Linked DNA regions of Homo sapiens: region 2 is linked to region 1. Evidence: promoter capture Hi-C in human tissues and cell types (Jung and others, 2019). All regions are on one chromosome and are shown on one strand. Each heading gives the region's core, a stretch centred on a gene start or on the middle of the fragment in contact. The rest is flanking DNA. Distances are from core to core; before and after follow the strand shown.

What was found. Contacts are between HindIII fragments. The study calls those that stand out against the background at their distance.
Region 2: a contact is called between a fragment that was not itself captured here and the fragment with the promoter of FBLN5 in region 1, in 3 of the 25 tissues and cell types used here (aorta, lymphoblastoid cells and neural progenitor cells).

Annotation. Positions count from the first base shown.
Region 1 is chr14:91,944,939-91,950,308 of GRCh38, forward strand. FBLN5 (fibulin 5) reads right to left here and starts at 2,756. Exons shown (of 11, transcript NM_006329.4): 1 at 2,275-2,756. The coding sequence starts at 2,291. The HindIII fragment of the contact is 12,789 bases long and covers 1-5,370 here.
Region 2 is chr14:91,597,844-91,603,644 of GRCh38, forward strand. All of the region lies in intron 22 of CATSPERB (catsper channel auxiliary subunit beta), which reads right to left. It also overlaps the pseudogene POLR3GP1. Among named protein-coding and RNA genes, the nearest start is that of PPP4R3A, 90 kb to the left of the region's middle. The HindIII fragment of the contact is 7,277 bases long and covers 1-5,801 here.

The sequences.
Region 1 (5,370 bases), core at 1,506-4,005:
GACAAAATCAGGCTGGGCATGGTGGCTCCCACCTCTAATCCCAGCACTTTGGGAGGCCGAGGTGGGTGGATCACCCGAGGTCAGGAGTTTGAGACCAGCCTGGGCAACATGGTGAAACCCCGTCTCTACTAAAAATACAAAAATTAGCCGACTGTGGTGGCAGGCGCCTGTAGTCCCAGCTACTCTGGAGGCCAAGGCAGACAAATCACTTGAACCCAGGAGGCAGAGGTTGCAGGGAGCCGAGATTGCGCCACTGCATTCCAGCCCGGGAGACAGCGAGACTCCGTCTCAAAAAAAAAAAAAAAAAGAAAATCTAAACAAAAGCAGAGCGTTATCTAGTACTATTATTCAGTTCAACAGCAGTTTATCCAAGCAACTACTGCTTGTGGGTGTGGATGCCAGATGGAGGAGCTACAGAACTGTGAAACAACCACTACCCTTGAGAACCAGTTGGGGAGCCACGACAATGTCCATACACCTTGGCAAGGGCATGGAAAGAAATACCTATTGGGTGCCATAACAACCAGGCTGTGGGTAGCAACAAGACTTCCTGGAGAAGGTGATCTTGAAGGCTTCTTCAACAGAGCAGTGAACCTGGGGACATGGCTGAATTCTGGGGCCCGTTACTACAAACGTGCACCACAACAATATAATCCCTCCCTTTCAGGACACATGGCCCATCTGCATCAGCAACCCTGGGTATTAGAGGACCTGGAGTTAAGCTGACATCCAGAGGGAATAGGGCCCTGATACGATCTTAGGAGATGCGAGGCCATTTCCTTTATCGAGTCCCCAATCCAAAAAATAAGGACGCTGAGAGTCCACAAGTTTTCATGTAAGTGCCTGGGTGAGCCAGATTCTAGAACGCTGGAGACAGCTCTGACCTTATAAAGTGCAGAGCCAAATCCCAGGGCTTTTTGATATTTGCCATGGCCAGATTTATATCTGGAAGGAATGAAAGAACAATAACAAATTTATTTTCCAGTCTGTGTATTATGAATTTCAATGTTTTCCTGTTTCTTCACATGAAGTTTCCTTTCAGTTGGTTATAAAACCCTGTCTCGTTTATGTTGGAGAAAGAACAGGCTGACTGCAACACAGTGGACTTCAAGAGCTAGTTGAAAAGGCATGCTAACCCCATCTTTCCCCCTACTCCCCGCAGCCCCATTCCCTTTGGCTAGAGGCAGCCCTGGGACAGGTCTTGCCTCAAGCCCAGCCTCTTGGAAGAGCCACAGCTGAGTCCTGGGGGCCAAACAGGTTCCAGGCTAATAGGATTTTCCTAAAATGAAAGAATACCCAAGCACTACTGCCTCACAGCATCACGAATAGCTGCACCTTGTGATTAAAAAAAAAAAACCCTGGAAACTCCAAAAATGAACTAACTATAAGAATAGCTGGGGGGAGGCAGGTTGGTGCTCATAACCGGTCCTGGGAACTTTCTAAAGCAGGTGGGTTCGCCGGTGTTGTGCCTCAGCCTGAAACACAAGGAAAGCCGGAGAGACCAACCAAATACCAGGACTGCCTGTCACAGAAGTGCTGGTCCCCAATCCAGGATGACATTGTTACAGCTTAGTTTTCAGCACACACACACACACACACACACCCCACAGACACATACATACGCACACAAGGTTAATTTGTTCAAAGCAGTATGTTTTCAAGAGCTCGCTGAATAAAGACTGTGGGTGTCATTTAGGTAAAGTTCTCCAAGACTTAAGGATTACTTAACTGTAATTGCAATTTCCTTAAAGAATAGCAAAACATTTGCTTACATGTATCTCTGTCTGCAGTTCCCACTTCTCATTGGCTTGAAACTTCTGTGAGAATCCCACACAAACATAGAGCAAATCCAGCCCCGCGGTGTTCAGCTAGCCTGTCTGCTTGTCTATCAGCCGATGCGGCGCAGTAATTGCTAGTGAACTAGTAATTGGCCTCCCGAAATTTAAAAAATACATACAAAAATCCCTTAAAACGACAAAGTTGCTGCCCTTTCCAGAAAAGAAAGAGGAATGAAGCGCTGAGAATTTCGCAGCCCTCTCTGATGCTGGCTTTTGAAACTGTATTAGAAAATACCCACTCCCAAAAGAACGCTTCAAGATGGAAATTACAGAGGCGCAGCTTTTTATAATTAACAATATCATTGCATCACTAGCTCATGCCTTTTCCAATATCCTGACACCGCCTGAATCGCAGCCATAACCATTTTCCACCCATCGGATTTTTAGCAAGGCTTCCAGACCCTGGAGAAAGAAAAGTCCAGCGCCGAGAACCCACCTTTTTATTCCTGGCATGTCCAAGACGCGCGAGGAGGAGATGCGAAGGCGAGAAGAAAGCTCGCGGGCGGGACCCCCGGAGGAGCTCGGGCACGTCGGCCTCCTCTGGGCCCTCGGGGCTCGCGGGTGTTTTATTCCAGAGGGGCCGAGCGAGTCGTGGAGAGGACACGGGGAGAGCGCCGGGGTCCTCCCAGCCACTGCAGAGCCCTCAGCGCAAGCACCTGGTTTTGCTTAGCCCTCTTCAGTAATTCAGCATTAAACCAATTGGAGGAGGAATGTTAAAAATGAACACTTCATTTTCTAAGTATGTTAAACAATGCAAATGGGGCCTCAGTCTGGACACAGCTGGTTCAGATTACAGCGCTCACCAACTGGCTAGACTCCTCACAACAATCTTGGGGCGTCTGCCAGGGCCCAGTGCTCGGCGCTGGGAGGAGAGCCCTTCCCCGGCCGCGCTCGGCTGCGAGCGCCCGGGCAGAAGGCGAGGGGCGGGCGCGCGCAGGGGTGCGGGGGCTGGGAGGGCCCGGGCCCCTTGACCTTCCCACCCAGGGGCGGGGCGGGGCTGGCAGCGCGGCCCGGCGGGGAGGGGCGTGCACGCCCGCGCTGCGTGGCAAGGGGACCCGCGAGAACGTTGTCGCCTCCGGAAGGAAAGGGACTTGAACTCACGACCCACGCAGCTCCAGGGACTAGAAACTCACGATCGATTGGGAAACCAGAACCTACGAAGCAGAGGCTTGGGGCGAGCGACGGGAGAGTCGCGATCTTCCCGAAGAAGGGGTGGGGAGCAGCGGGGTGGGGTGGGGGGGAAGAGGATGGAATCCCGCTGGTGCGAATTCCAGACTTCAGCTTGTGCAATGCAAGTCTTAGGACGCTTTTCTCTCCCCGCCCTCATTCCCCGATTCTCCCTGGCATTTTCTCGCTTTCCTGGAAAAGTGTCCCCTGGCTCGAAAGTGATTTTAACAAGTTAAACGGTGATTTGAAGAAGGGACAGTCTGGAAAAGCAGAATGGTGGAGACAGCACATAAGACATGCTGAGTCCTTTGCATTCATTCTAGTGGAGGCTTCAACCTGTTTCTTTTTCCTGTTTGTTTGTTTGTTTGTTTGTTTGTTTTTAAGCCATTGGAGTACTTTTGTCAATGAAATCTTACAGAAGGCACTCACTCTATAAAACGCCAGTGGATGGACTGTGGCCTATCCCATCTGCTTCCACCTGCATCTTCCTACCTGCAGCCGAAAAGCCCTGATCCAGGTCCCCTGTCCTCACCACCACTCTAAGCAGTAGGAATGATCATCTCCATGTTATTAGAGGTGAAGATAAGAGAGGTTAGGTAACCTCCCCATAGTCACGCAGCTATTCATTGGTACAGCTGAGCCTCTGGAGTCTACATATTTAGCCTTCCCTAAGGCATTTTTGGGGGTAAGTAAATGGAATTCTACCCAAAGGAGAATAACAGAATGTGGATAGTTGTTGAAGCTGTGTCCATTATACTAGTCTAATCTATTTCCTTTTACGTGTTTGAAATTTCCTGTAAAACACTTTTTTAAATACCTTATGTTTATAAGGTTGTTCATCCCCCCATTGTTTGTAAAAGCAAAAGATTATAAACACCTTTAAGGTCGATCAGCAAGGCACCAATAGGGTTAAATAAAGTAAGGGGCTTCCAAAGGGACTATTGTGCAACCAATTAAAACCTAGACACTTAAGAGTCCACATCAAACGACTCCATTTATATAAAATTCAAAGTCAGATAGTGACTGGGAGGCAGCCCAGCCCCTTCTGGGTGCTGGTAATAATCTAATGATTGATCTGGATGCTGGTTATGTAGGGGTGTGTACATTTAATATTTGTGAAGTCTTATGTATGTTATATCTTATTTTGAAAAAAAGACTGAAACAGCTCCGTATGCACTGCTATTGAAGGGTTTCCAATATATTTTGTGGGTCAAAACAGTAGAATATTGGTAATTTCACATAGATTGATCTAATATAGTAATAAATGTAAAAAGTAAGCTGCAGAACTGTGTGTAAAGCATGCCATCATTTGTGGGAAAAAAAATAAATACATAAGTTCTTGCTTGTACACGTACAGAAAAGACATCACCTGAAGGATGCACAAGAAACCATGAGTATTATTGGTCTTAGCTCAGGCTGCTATAACAGAATACCATAGACTGGGTGGTTTATGCAATAACATTTATCTCTCCCAGTTCTGGAGGCTGGAAGTCTGAGATCAGGGTGTGGGCATAGCCAGGTTCTCATGAGGGTCCTCTCCTGGTTGCAGATGACTGTCTTCTTGCTATGTCCTCACATGATGGAGAGAGGGAGACTAGGGTTCCTTTTTTTGAGATGGAGTCTCACTCTCTCGCCCAGGCTGGAGTATGGTGGTGTAATCTCGGCTCACTGCAAGTTCTACCTCCCAAGTTCAGGCAATTCTCCTGCTTCAGCCTCCCAAGTAGCTGGGATTATAGGCACGCACCACCGTGCCTGGCTAATTTTTGTATTTTTAGTAGAGATGGGGTTTTGCCATGTTGGCCAGGCTGGTCTTGAACTCCTGGGCTCAAGCAATCCATGGGCCTCGGCCTCCCAAAATGCTGAGATTACAGGCTTGAGCCACCGCGCCTGGCCAGAGACTGGGATTCCTTTTATAAGGGCACTGGTCCCATTCGTGAGAGCTTCACCCTCATGATCTAATCACCTGCTGAAGGCCTCATCTCCTAGAGCCATCACCTTGGGGATTCAGATTTCAACATATGAATCTGGGGGTTTAAACATATGGTCTGTAACCATCTCCTAGGAGGGAAATCAGGCAGACAATTGGAAAAGAAATAGGAGAGGAAAATTCGCTCCTCATTGCTCACTTTTTGGCATAACTTGAATTTTGTACCTTGTACCTGTATTACCTATTCAAAATATGAGTAATATTCAAAATAATAAAACTTAAAATATCTGATGTAGAACTAGTTGTGGGGGTAGGAAGAGTTTTAAGGGACTCAGTCCATTCACCTCGCAGATACTGTCAACCTTCTTGAAGAACACGGAAGGAGAGGAAATCAATATACCTGTTTCCTACATAGGCAAATTGAGACCGTTGGAAGCA
Region 2 (5,801 bases), core at 2,249-4,748, 350 kb before region 1:
GTAACTCAATGTTACAAGCACTTTAAAAGCACATACAGGAAGATAAATGGATGCAATAACATTAAAACATTTTTTATCTCAGTTTTTTTCCCTAAGCAAACCAAAATTTAATAATAATATGACAACTTGATTATATAAAAGTTTTTGTTTTTTTTTTTAAATATATAAATCCTCTTATTGTGACTTACACTGACTATTCATGACATGGCCAGACTTTCTGATTTGTTCTGAAATTCCCTCCTTTTTAAACAACCAGTTATTTTATTTTAGGACTAAATTTACCACAGAAGATTCTTTCTTATATAAAATTATTTCTTTTTAAGCTTTTTTACCTAAAAATAAAACCTCTTTATTTTTATAACTTTTTTTACATCTTTTTTTATTCCTGGCTCCTTTTACCTTGTTTTATATATAACCTTTAAATAAGCTTTGAATTAGACAAAACTTGTTCACTTTTTTTTTAAAAGGACACATTTTTCTTTCTTTAGCAAGAATGTTTTTCTACAATATATATTTATTGGAAAATACTCAATGAGATATCTATTATTTAATTTAATATAACTTTATATCCTAAATTATGACCAGTTTGTCTACAAGTATTTATCCCATTACATTTACCTAATTGTTTTAATTATTTACCTAGATTATTTATGAAAACTGTGATAGTCATGATTTAAAGTTATGAAACTGCCATTGCAGCATTATAACTGAGACTGTCAGAAAAGATTTGACTGGCCGGGCGTGGTGGCTCACACCTGTAATCCCGGCACTTTGGGAGGCCAAGGCAGGTGGATCACAAGGTCAGGAGATCAAGACCATCCTGGCTAACATGGTGAAACCCCATCTCTACTAAAAATACAAAAAATTAGCCAGGCGTGGTGGCAGGCGCTTGTAGTCCCAGCTACTTGGGAGGCTGAGGCAGGGGAATGGCGTGAACCTGGGAGGTGGAGCTTGCAGTGAGCCGAGATCGCACCACTGCACTCCAGCCTGGGCAACAGAGCAAGACTCTGTCTCAAAAAAAAAAAAAAAAAAAGGAAAAAGATTTGACCTAACTGATTCCATACTGCTCTTAACCTGTAAGCTGTCCTTGTTCATTCCTGGGCATAGGATGAACTAACTTTGGAAGGAACTTGGTTTATAGTTTAGCTTTTAAACAAAGATAACAGTCCTTTCCCAAAACAAACCTCCTTATTGTCTGTGTATCAGACTGACCAAATTTTGGGATATCAGGGATTCATTGGAGGGGTGCTCTCAGACCTCAGCAAATTGTCGTATTGGTTTGATCCATAAAGTTAGCTCATGCTGGTACCAGGCACTGATAAGAGATTTGTCAAAGGTCAGGGGCATCTCCATTCAGAACCCCTTCGTGGTTACCAAAATGTGAACCTAGAAAATCTGAGACAGGTCTCAGTTAATTTAGAAAGTTTACTTTGCCGGCCGGGCACGATGGCTCACGCTGTAATCCCAGCACTTTGGGAGGCCGAGGCGGGCGGATCACGAAGTCAGGAGATTGAGACCATCCTGGCTAACGCGGTGAAACCCCGTCTCTACTAAAAATACAAAAAATTAGCTGGGTGTGGTGGCGGGCGCCTGTAGTCCCAGCTACTTGGGAGGCTGAGGCAGGAGAATGGCGTGAACCTGGGAAGCGGAGCTTGCAGTGAGCTGAGATTGTGCCACTGCACTCCAGCCTGGGCGGCAGAGCAAAAAAAAAAAAAAAGAAAGTTTATTTTTATTTTGCCAGGGTTGAGGATGCACCCGTGACACAGCCGCAGGAAGTCCTGACAACATCTGCCCAAGGTGGTCAGGGCAAAGCTTGGTTTTATACGTTTAGGGAGACATGAGACGTCAATCAATATATATAAGAAGTACATTGGTTCAGTCTGGAAGGGGAGGACAACTTGAAGCAAAGGCACCAAGACTCAAGTGGGGAGGGAGCTTCCAGGTCACAGAAAGGTGATACACAAATGGTTACATTCTTTTGAGTTTCTGATTAGCCTTTCCAAAGGAGGCAAATCAGATATGAATCTATCTCAGTGAGCAAAGGAGTGACTTTGAATAGAAAAGGAGGCAGGTTTGCCCTAAGCAGTTCCCAGCTTGAATTTTCCTTAGTGATATTGGGGGCCCAAGATATTTTCCTTTGACACCACTGAATGGATATAGCACATTTTGTTTATCCATTCATCAGTTAATGCGCATCTGATTGTTTCCACTTTCTGGCTGTTATGAATAATGCTGCTATGAAGTTTTTGTCTGAACATATGTTTTCAATTCTTTTGGATATATCTAGGAGTGAAATGGCTGGCTCATACAGTAATTCTATGTTTAACTTTTTGAAGAAGCACCAAACTGATATCCATAACAGCTGCACCATTTTGCATTCCTGCCAGCAATGCATGAGAGTTCCAGATTCTCCACATTCTCGCCAACAATTATTTTCATTAAAAAAGCAATTATTATAGCTATTCTAATGACTGTGAAGGGATATCTCAAGTGATTTTGATTTGTATATCTCTAATGACTAAGACGTTGAGTATCTTTTCACGGGCTTGTTGGCTGTTTATATATCTTCTGTATTAGTCCATTCTCATACTGCTATAAAGAAATACCTGAGACTGGGTAATTTATAAAGAAAAGAGGTTTGGGTTTGTTTGTTTTTGTTCTGTAAGAATTTAATGTGTAAACATACAGAAAAGTAAGCATTATAGCAACCAAACAGTTTTGCTCACGATAGCAATTTTAAAGACACTTCAACACATACTTTTATGTAAGAGGCTAATTCTGCAAAATAACATTCACTTTCCTATGGAATAATTTCACTGTCTCAGATTTTAAGCCAGAAAAATGAGATTCATGCTGGTAAAGCAACCTGCAAATCCTGCATGTTCTCACAAATAGTATACTTTAACATGGTAAAAAGATCTTCCAAAGGGAGGAAAGAAGGCTCTTAAAGGGGATGGCTGGTGCCTCCCAGAGTAAATCCTTGCCCCAAGGGGCTGCCCTGCTATCTTCAAGACTAAAATGGTCATCACAAATTCAAAGCTAAAAAAAGAAATAACTTTTACCTTCGGTGTATTTGCCTGTTTCAAGTGGTTATCTGCAGATTTATGATAAGTCAGTAAACAGAACAATATTGATAAGATTTCTGAGAACTAAATGGTATTTGGCTCTGGTACGAAGGAGTTGAGAGAATACAACACCTATGTTAATTATCAGCTGCAAATGACAACTTTATGTGAGGTTTCTACTCTAAGGCTTACTTTATTCATGTATTCCATTTAGAATCTTAAAATTTTTTGATACTTCCTTTAAACAAGAAGTAATTCACAAATGCTTAACATAGCACTAAATTAATAAAATAGGTCCTCACACCCATCTTGAATTACTAAAGAAAGTATTGCCATTGAAAGTGATCTTTTTCCTGAGAAAGTTATGTTGCAAAATGGCACAAGACAATACACTTTTTCTCTAATTTTCCACAGGAATACAAGATAGGAAAATCAGATTACAATATATTTTGTGAGGAAAACATGTTTCTTAAAATTGTGTTTTCAGTTACTCTCCAAACAACATATTTTTAGAGGGTGAGAGCCAAATGTAAATTAAGAAGTGATCTTTATGGCAAGAGAATGAATATATATGGTAAATTTTGGTTGGTGTTTACACAATTTTTGTAGGAAATTGTTTACGAGTGGAGAAACTAAGGCACAGAAACAACCAAGCTCAGGTTCAAGGTTGAGTTTAATAGTACAGGTAGAAATAGAATCTAGGGATCTGATTCTCACATTAGAGGATAATAATATCTTCCTAAAGGGGAAAAATAAATTTTTTTTGGTAGATCACATTGATAAATCATTTTTGAAATACATAATATGAATTTCCTTGAAGATCTTTGGCATTTGTGAGAGTATTTGTAGGTTGAGGTTTTTAGGTATTTTTTCCCCAAAAATATATAAAGTTAGGGGAGCTAGCTCTAAACAACAAAAAAATTAATCTTAATTTCAAAATGACCTGAGTTCATTTTGCATTTTTATATAAATCAATAGTACAGCTTGCATACATAAAAGGCCACCACACTTCACTTCATAGAGTTCACACACATGCATTCTACAGTGATATTTATATGATCAGAACTTATTTCACACTTACATAAAGTATAAAATTAAATGTCTTAGTCAAATTTTTCATAAGCCCAACTACTTGAAGATGTCAAAGTTATTACAGTGGGATGATTAATTCATATATCATACAGTATTAGGTTAGTCCCAAATTCAAGTATTTATAATATTCACCTCATGTGAAAGTTTCTTTGTACTGGCTAAGCTGTGAGCTGTGAAATTTATATTGCTTAGCTTGGTATTTTTCCCTGTGTGTATGTTTTCCATCACAAAACCTCTATCTCACAATTCTGTACTTGTAAGAGGTCAGGTAGGTTTATGTAGTCATAATGCAGTAGTCTAGAACATACCATGTAAAAATAAAAAATAAAATTATTTTCAAGTTTGTTTTTAAAGTGCTCCATGTGCTGTATTATATCAACTTTCAAATTCTAGAAATCCATTATGACTAGCAATAGTCTTAGAAAAGATCAGCAGTTAAGCAAGAATGTATGTATACATAGATTAAGGGAGCAAAAATTATTTAGGCACATTCATATTCAAATAATACAAAAAAATCCACGAGAGTACATAAGAGAGATGGCAGAAGGGTTTAGAAGGAATGTCAGAGTGTCAGGGACTAATTTGTAAGGTAACTAGAATGTAAACTCAAAGTGGTTTTGAATATTTTGGTAACAAATATTTGTACAAAAAAAAACAAAAATAAAAATACTTATTCCTTATCAGAAATAAAATATAAAACAAATCTGTCCAAATGTTCAGAAGCTGCATCATAAAAACATTTTTTGAAAAATTTCATGCCTACTAGGTTGCTTCATCCATGTTGTCATCACTGTCTGCACCAAAATCATCTCCATCTTCAAAGTATGAATTAATGTAGTCATTTCCCTCTTCTTGCTCTTCTTCATCATATCCCTCCTGTTCTGCAGCATCATTGTCATCATCATCATCACCTTCTCTACTTTTCTCTTTGCTTCCTTCTTTCTCTTCTTTTCTCATCTGATTTTTCATCATCACCTCTCTTTTCCAATTCCTCAATTTTTTTCAACACATCTGCAGTATTAGTGAGTGATGTGCCTTTGCCTGTGTCTTTTGCCTTTTTGGGTTTTGGGCCTGCTTTTTTACATTTATTTCTTGGCATCATCTCTCTTGGAAGTCTTCTCCAATCTGGTATCCACTCTTCCTTGTATACCTTCATGTATCTTTTACTATACCTTTCAATATCTTGTCTTTCTTCATGAGGGTGTTTCAATAAAATAGGGCATTCTTTTCATTGTTTCTCTCAACTCCTGTTTCAAAGCCAGCATATATTATTCACCTTCTCCTGTCTTCAGTGGCACTGGTTTATAATCTGTATCAGGAAATAGTGGGGGTGGTTTCAACACTACATCAGGTAACTTTTTACCTTTGCTAAATCCAACAGCCTCAATATTAAAGGTATAAGCAGCACGTCCTCATCCTTTATTCCCAGCCATCAGAACTAGTTATACCAGATGAGTGGGCAAATTCTGCTCCCTAAGTCTTAAAGTGTGGGCAAAACTCTGCAGCTGAAATGCCGGCCAGCAAGGAAGGGGTGCAGGCAGAGGACCCCACCGCTCTAGAGCCTGAGAAGCGCGCACTGCCCTCAGAAGAGAGGTTTAATTGGCTCACAGTTCCACAGGCTGCACAGGAAGCATGGCAGCATCA